Regions from separate parts of the Homo sapiens genome. Here region 1 is linked to region 2. The links are contacts of gene promoters, found by promoter capture Hi-C in blood cells and fetal thymus (Javierre and others, 2016). All regions are on one chromosome and are shown on one strand. The core of a region is centred on a gene start or on the middle of the fragment in contact, and the rest is flanking DNA. Distances in the headings are between cores, read along the strand shown.

What was found. Contacts are between HindIII fragments. The CHiCAGO score rates a contact against its expected background, and 5 or more counts as called.
Region 1: a fragment that was not itself captured here is called in contact with the fragment with the promoter of GNB4 in region 2 in 1 of 17 cell types (total B cells); the score reaches 6.3 in total B cells.

Annotation. Positions count from the first base shown.
Region 1 is chr3:179,343,280-179,347,064 of GRCh38, forward strand. No RefSeq gene overlaps it. Among named protein-coding and RNA genes, the nearest start is that of MFN1, 2.5 kb to the right of the region's middle. The HindIII fragment of the contact is 2,685 bases long and covers 1-2,630 here.
Region 2 is chr3:179,450,140-179,454,228 of GRCh38, forward strand. GNB4 (G protein subunit beta 4) reads right to left here and starts at 1,331. Exons shown (of 10, transcript NM_021629.4): 1 at 1,207-1,331. It also overlaps the pseudogene RPL29P34. RefSeq lists silencers at 902-1,311, 1,352-1,501. The HindIII fragment of the contact is 16,902 bases long and covers 1-3,348 here.

The sequences.
Region 1 (3,785 bases), core at 38-2,537, 110 kb before region 2:
AGATTTATTTGCAATTTTTTGTTTTGTTTTGTTTTCGAGCTCATCAGCTATTGTTAGTGTATTTTATGTGTGACCAAAGACAATGCTTCGTCCAGTGTGGCCCAGGGAAGCCAAAAGATTGGACACCCCCTTCCTTAAAAACTTTTTTTTTTTTTAACCTTAAAAACTTCCATTTTTACAGGCTGGGCGTGGTGGCTCACGCCTGTAATTCCAACACTTTGGGAGGCTGAGAGGCAGGTGGATCACCTGAGGTCAGGAGTTCGAGACCAGCCTGGCCAGCATGGTGAAACCCTGTCTCTACACAAATAGAAAAATTAGCCAAGCATGGTGGCGGATGCCTGTAATCCCAGCTACTTGGGAGGCTGAGGCAGGAGAATCACTTGAATCCGGGAGGTGGAGGTTTCAGTGAGCCTAGATCGTGCCATTGCACTCCAGCCTGGGCAACTGAGCGAGACTCCTCAAAAAAACAAAACAAAACAAAAAGACTATTTTACTATGCTTCTATTTAACTAACAGCTATGGAATATCTACTATCAAGCCAAGTGCTCAGGAATACAAAGATAAACTATGGTTCTTGACCTCAAAGAGATTTACCATATAATGCAGGAAACTGTCACCTTTCTGAACTACAATTCAATTAAATATCAAATTGACTTTCATGTATCCAAGTATTTGCCTTTTGTATAATGCTACCTACCATACACGTTCTTGTCAGTTTTTTATATACTTGTGATTCAGTACTTCCAAAATATATGCAGAATGACTAAAGTTTATACTCCCATCAGCAAGATCATGTTTCCGCACAGGCTTATCAACAATATCATACAACTTTTAAATTTCCTGTAAATCTTAAGGTCATAAAGTAGTACATTATTATTGTTTAAATTTGCATAATCTGATTACTAACAAGGTTGAGACTATCTAATATGCTTATTAGTCATTTTAACTTTCATTTTGTGAACTGCTTCTCCCTATCCTTTGTCTGCTTTTCTGTTGGGTTTTCTGCTCTATTTTCCGAAGTTCTTTATTTTTAACTATTGATTTTTGTTGGCAATATATACTGCAAAAAATAGATTTCCTATGTGTCTGTTATGGATGACTTTTTTGAACAGAAATCCTTAAATTTAATGTAATAGATTCATCACATTTTCCCTTTACATTGTACCTCCTGTCTGTTAATTTTACAAAATTCTCTCCAACTAAAATGTCCCCAAATTATTTTCCTACGTTTTTTCCTAATTTTCTGGTTTTACTTTTCTTTTTTTTTTTTTTTTGAGACGGAGTCTTGCTCTGTCGCCCCGGTTGGAGTGCAGTGGTGAGATCTCGGCTCACTGCAAGCTCCGCCTCCGGCATTCACGCCATTCTCCTGCCTCAGCCTCCCGAGTAGCTGGGACTACAGGCGCCCGCCACCACAACCGACTAATTTTTTTGTATTTTTAGTAGAGACGAGGTTTCACCGGATTAGCCAGGATGGTCTCGATCTCCTCACCTCGTGATCCGCCCGCCTCGGCCTCCCAAAGTACTGGGATTACAGGCTTGAGCCACCGCGCCCGGCCTGGTTTTACTTTTCATGTTCAGGTCTTATACCCATCTGAATTTGTATATAGATATGATTCAAACTTTATTTTTGTTAATTAAATTGAACCAATTTCTCCAATGTGATAAAATAATTTATCTTACCCAGTGATTCATAATACCAATTTTATCATATACCAACTCCCCATGGACATAATTAGCATGTAAATCTGTGTCTTACACAATTACATTCCATCGTTTGTTCCTCCAAGAGTATCACATACTTTAATAGTAACAACATGCTTTAAATATTAAGAGTTGGGTAAGTATAGGCAGAGAACAAGGGAAATAAAGAGAAATGGTTGATAATTTAAAAAATAATAAATATTAGAGCTTTGCTTATAGCAAATAAAAAATAAATGTTAGGACTTATTATAAATATTAAACTTTAGCAAGTACTTCTTCTGCATGTATTGAGATAAATGTGGGTTTCCTCCTTTGGTCTGTCAGTATTATGGATTATATTGATTTCTGTTTGATGATTTCTGTATTCCTAGGAAAACCCTACTTGGATAAAAAAATAATTCTAATACAACGTTGGCCTCAGGTAGCTAATATTTCCTATGTTTGCCTCTGTAGTCCATAAGTGTGAATTTTTTTTTTTTTTTTTTCTGGAGACTGAGTCTTGCTCTTTCGCCCAGGCTGGAGTGCAGTAGCGTGATGTTGGCTCACTGAAACCTCCGCCTCCCGGATTCAAGTGATTCTCCTGCCTCTCCCTCTGGAGTAGCTGAGACTACAGGCACCTGCCACCACGCCTGGCTAATTTTTGTGTTTTTTATTAGAGACAAGGTTTCACCATATTGGACAGGCTGGTCTCGAACTCCTGACCTCATGATCCACACGCCTCATGATCCAAACTGCTGGGATTACAGGCGTGAGCCATCGCACCCGGCAAGATTAATCTTTTCGTTAAACATGTAATAGAAAGTTACCCCGAAAATCATCTAGACCTGGCTAGTTTTGAATATGTGGGAAACTTAGCCTATTCGAGTTTTCTATTTTTTCTCGGTCTAATTTTGGTATTTGATGTTTTCCCAGATTTTATACTTCATCTAAGCTTTTCAATTTGTTGGCATTTATATATATATCTATAGTTATTCTCCCCTTAATTTGTGTCCTTTCATTTTTTATGTTCTTGAACAGATTTGGCAGTGATACATCAAATTGATAATTTCTTTCAAATAACGTTAGTTTTTGTTAATATCTATGTTGGTTTTAGCGTTTATATTTTAATTCTTTTCCTTCTTTGTGTTTACTCTCCTGGCTTTTTGGTAATATGTGTGTTCCACACACACACAAAAGCAATGGATTAAATTTCTTATTACTTACTATATTAAACATTTAATTACCGTGCTATAATTTATAGCCTGTAATATGTCACTCTTGCTTTAAAATGCAGTAATTATATTAAATATAATTATTAAGTACAGAACTAATAAAAGGATACCATCATGATTTTTAAAATTCAAACAGAGTAAATGTTCCCTTTGAGACTACCTATGCTCAGAACTGATGGATTAGCTGGCACGACCCAGACCGATAAACTGGCTCATCTGACCTAGTGTCCCCCAACCCAGGAACTGACTCGTGCAGAAAGACAGCTTCCACTCCCTGCGATTTCATCCCTGACCAATCAGCACTCCTGGCTCAGTGGCCTCCCCCAACCCACCAAATTGTCCTTAAAAATTCTGCTCCCCAGTGCTGCTCGGGGAGACTGATTTCAGTAATAATAAAACTCCAGTCTCCCATACAGCCGGCTTTGCGTGACTAAGTCTTTATTTGCAATCCCCCTGTCTTGTATCAGTTCTGGCTAGTCAGCGGGCAAGGTGAAGGCTTTCCTTGGGCGGTTACCATCCGAAGCTTTAATTTTAAGTATAATGGCAAGCTGTTGGAAAGCTTTTTTTTTTTTTTTTTTTTTTTTTTTTTTTTTTTTGAGATGGAGTCTGGCTCTGTCGCCCAGGCTGGAGTGCAGTGGCGCGATCTCGGCTCACTGTAACCTCCGCCTCCCGGGTTCAAGCAATTCTCTGCCTCAGGCTCCTGAGTAGCTGGAACTACAGGCGCCCGCCACCACCACGCCCGGCTACTTCTTGTATTTTTAGTAGAGACGGGCGTTCACCGTGTTAGCCAGGATGCTCCCGATCTCCTGACCTTGTGATCCGCCCGCCTCGGCCTCCCAAAGTGCTGGGATTACAGGCGTGAGCCACCCCGCC
Region 2 (4,089 bases), core at 81-2,580:
CTACAAACCAAAATGCAACATGGAAAATCTTAAAATGTCTTTAAGCCACATACTGAAATATACAGTAAATTTTCAGAGCCTAGGATCAGTAGTAAACCAAAAGCCCCAAACTGAAGAGTATTAAAATGAACAATGGCAGAGACTCGAAGCACACAATTTTGAATGCACCTAATCAGCCGTCCTCCTCTCCGACTAGAAATAACTTCCCTCCCATCTTAAATTAAGTAGCGTGTGTTCTGTCTCTGTCCTAGAAGATGTACTTAATGGTCATAAACTCTGTTTGCAACACTGAGACGGACTCATAATAAAAGTTCTAATCAACAATTAAATTTTGAACGTTTTAAGAAAACTTCCCGCTAAGCCACACGCCAAGCTACTTTGTCGGTGGCTGAGAGGGAGAAAGATGCATCCTTATCCTTTATGGAAAGAGAAAGGGAAGGAGTGGGAGAAAAGGGAACACAAGGAGACGAAAAATAACAAAGTATTGCTTGTATAAACAAATGAAAGCCTGGTTTCAAACTTTTGAAAATTCAACGTTCCCTTAGCGAATAGCAATACATATCAAAGTATATGGCAATCATCTGTGTTCTGAAGCAGAAAAAGGTGGAGAGAAAAGCAAAACACTTTTTATTGTACTGAACTCACAAGTATTCAAAATTCATCAATCCCCTCCCATCCCCAAACTCTGGACATTATATCATTTCCAAAATAAATCTGAAACAAAACCATTGGACTAATTTTGGACTCAGCGTAGAACTTTTATGAGTCTTCCAAGCACTCTCCACCCAACAGCCCTGCTGGGCAGTCCCGAATACCCGTTATTTTGGGGGCACGCACGGGCTCGTGCTCTGAGTTCCTGGAAGGAGGCCTCGGGGAGTGACGAGAAACCAGGGGGGTCTGCAGGACTTGGACCGCCGACCGTTCCTCGCTCCCCGGGGCGAGCGGTCTGGACCGCCCGGGAAGTGCCTGCGCCGGCGGTCGTGGGGCCAGTTCCCGCGTGGCAGCTGGGCGCGACACAGGCGCGCCCTCCTCGTCCCTCCCGGGCAGCGTCGGCCGCCCGAGCCCGGGGAGACCCGCCCCGCCCCGCGCCGTCACCCGGGCCCCGTTCCGCAGGGGTGGCTCGCGGCGCCCCACGTCCCTGCGAGAAGCCCGGGATCGCTTCGCGGGGCGCACCGACGAGCCGCCGCTCGCGAGCTCGCCGCCTACCTGGAGGGAGCTCAGGCCCGCGTCGACCGCGCGCTGCCGGTGTCCGCTGGGCGCTCAGCAGCCCCTGGAGCGCGGAGCCGGCGTGGAGAGCGCAGCTCACAGCCGAGACCAGAGCCGCCGGCCACACCCAGTCCCGCACCTCCCAGCAGCCAACTCCGCGGCGCGCCGGAGCCGGGGCGGGGACGTGGCTGGAGGCGCGAGGCGCGAGGCACGAGGCGCGCGGGCCCGGCGGGGACGTGCCGGGGACGCGCAGACCCTCGGAGCGCGCGCAGCCCGGGCGGGGGGCGAAGGGAGCGGGCGCCGCGCGCAGCTTCTGCTTCCTATTTTCTCTCTCGTTTCCTGCCAGAAGGAGAAGAAAAACATTCATTCCCGGGCAGTTTCGTTTTCTTGTTGGTGTGGCGCCGGGGCACGCTGCTAAGTAGCGCCCGTCTAAGTGGCGTGGCCAGTTTCCTTTCCGGCGCTGACAGGCGCCAGTTTGCTTGTTAGCAGGATCGAAGGGCAGAGCTAGAAGACCCCAAAGGCCCCATTTAGGTTTCCCATTCTGGAATTCTAAATGTCAGAAAGTAAACTGAAGCCCAGAGTTGCACAACCTTGCGTTGCAGTCCCCGCTCTTCCATCACTAGTTGTAGGACCGTGTACCGTCTCGGGCCTAAGTTTCGTCATCGCCAAAATAAAGATACTGATACCTGCCTCATAAAGGTGCTAAGCATATTAAATGAAGTGATGTTTGCACGAAGCCTGCCTCCAAATAAATGGCCAATACTTGGAAGTTATTGTTCCTATTGTCATTGATAAAACTGGAAGGCCTTCCAGATATCCCTGCCAAGTCGCTCTTCTCTGCATGAGTTAAACACCACATGCATCTCAATCGAGTTTTTTTTTTTTTCACATTTATCTGGGTGTTTTATGTTTAAAATGTCATAAAATAAATGCATCTATCCAATTTGCTTCCTCTGAAGTCAGTACCGCCTGGGAGCATTTTTCCTCTCCCCACCCCCATTTTTCTTCTGAGTTAATTCCAGTTTGACAGACTGTTGCTATAGCATTCCTTCTCTGACGTCAAACAATTTAAAGAAACAGCCCTGGGTAGCGAAAACTGCAGAGGAGTTCTTTGTGGAGTTTCTGTGCCGGAGAAATGTTCGAACAATATCATCAGATAACTTTAACAACCCCTCAGCCTTCCAATCCTCCTTCTGTAGCTGCTTCCCACTATCACCTGGAATAAATCTATTAGTCCCTTGAAAGAGGTGATGCCATGATAAACACACCCTGTTTGTGACTGTGGGGAAAATGTGACCGTTTTGTATAAAAGCCAGGCCGTGACAAAAATAGAAGCAGCTGTTTCTATTTTCTTTATCCACAGATAAAGAAACTGTGGATAATTTTTCCCCCAAAATTTTCATTTTTACTAATATTAGGAGCATTTTTCCATTAAGAAGAAAGAAATGCCAAATATTCTGCATATCAAAGTGTCAGAAGAGCTCGTTGGGACATGAGTGTTTTGCATCTGTAACTATTTATGTTTTAATGATTAAATCCTGAGTTTTATGATTGTCGTTTTTCGGAGGAAGCAAAGGGAAATTGTTAAAGAGTGCCTATTACGGACCATGCTCTCTGCTTTCTTATACTGTACTTAATCCTCATAATTACCTTGAAGTGTGAATTTTATCCCCATTTTACAGATAAGCAAACTGATGCCCTGGTAAGATTAATTTATCGGAGTCACGAAGGTATTGGTAGAGCCCTGCATGACATCAGATTGGATCAACTCCAAAGCCCACATTCTTTCTTTTTTTTGTTTGTTTTTTTGTTTTGAGACGGAGTCACTGTGCAGTGATGTGATGTCAGCTCACTGCAACCTCCACCTCCAGGATTCAAGCGATTCTCGTGTCTCAGCCTCCCAAGTCTGGGATTACAGGCACAAGCCACCACGCCCGGCTGATTTTTTGTATTTTTAGTAGACACGGGGTTTCACCGTGTTGACCAGGCTGGTCTCAATCTGCTGACCTCAGGTGATCCGCCCACCTCGGCCTCCCAAAGTGCTGGAATTACAGGCGTGAGCCACCGATCCCGGCCCCATATTCTTTCTTTAGATTCTTTTCTGCCTTGTTCCTGTGCACTAGCATTTACCAGATGTTATAAAGCTTTGAGAGCTGGTTGTTGGGTTAAGATTATTTGTTGAAAAACAAGTTGCTGGTATTTAGGAAAACACAGTGGGAAGCAATGAGATAGTCTATTCCAGAAAAGATGAGGGGAAATATAAATGAACAGCTCCTAAACATAAAATACAAAACCTGAAAAGATGTAACAAGAATTTGACTGTCTTTTAAAGAGTTTAAAAGAATGATATCGTCAATCTTCCTGAAAATTTAATGTAGACAAAGAAATTACTAGAAGAATAAAGTCCAAGTACAGAAAAAGGAAAGTTTAATTATTATCCAAACGAATCTACTTCCAAGAATATTGTATTTCTGTTTTGCCATACCTGCTCCATATTGTTCTGGAAAAAAAAAAAAAAACTTACTTGTTAAAGGACAAGCCTATACTGAAAATCTGAAAGTGGAGCTGATTAAAAGAATTTTGTCATCAGGAATGATTTCATAAGAGCACACTAATGCATCTAAGTGATCCAGCAATTCATGATTTTTCCAATGATAATGAAATCCACGAAGAACAAAAGAGAGAGACTGGGAAGGGAGGCAGAGAGAAAGGTGAAGGGGTATGCTATTAACATTTCTGATGCCTGCTGGTTTGTGTAGACAATTGTAGAGATGTATCCTACTTCTGAGGATTAAGCCCCATGATCTTTTGTTTGGGTGCCACTGGCTGATAATTAGATTTCTAACTCATTAGGCCCATGTTCTCAAATCCTACTCTATTAAG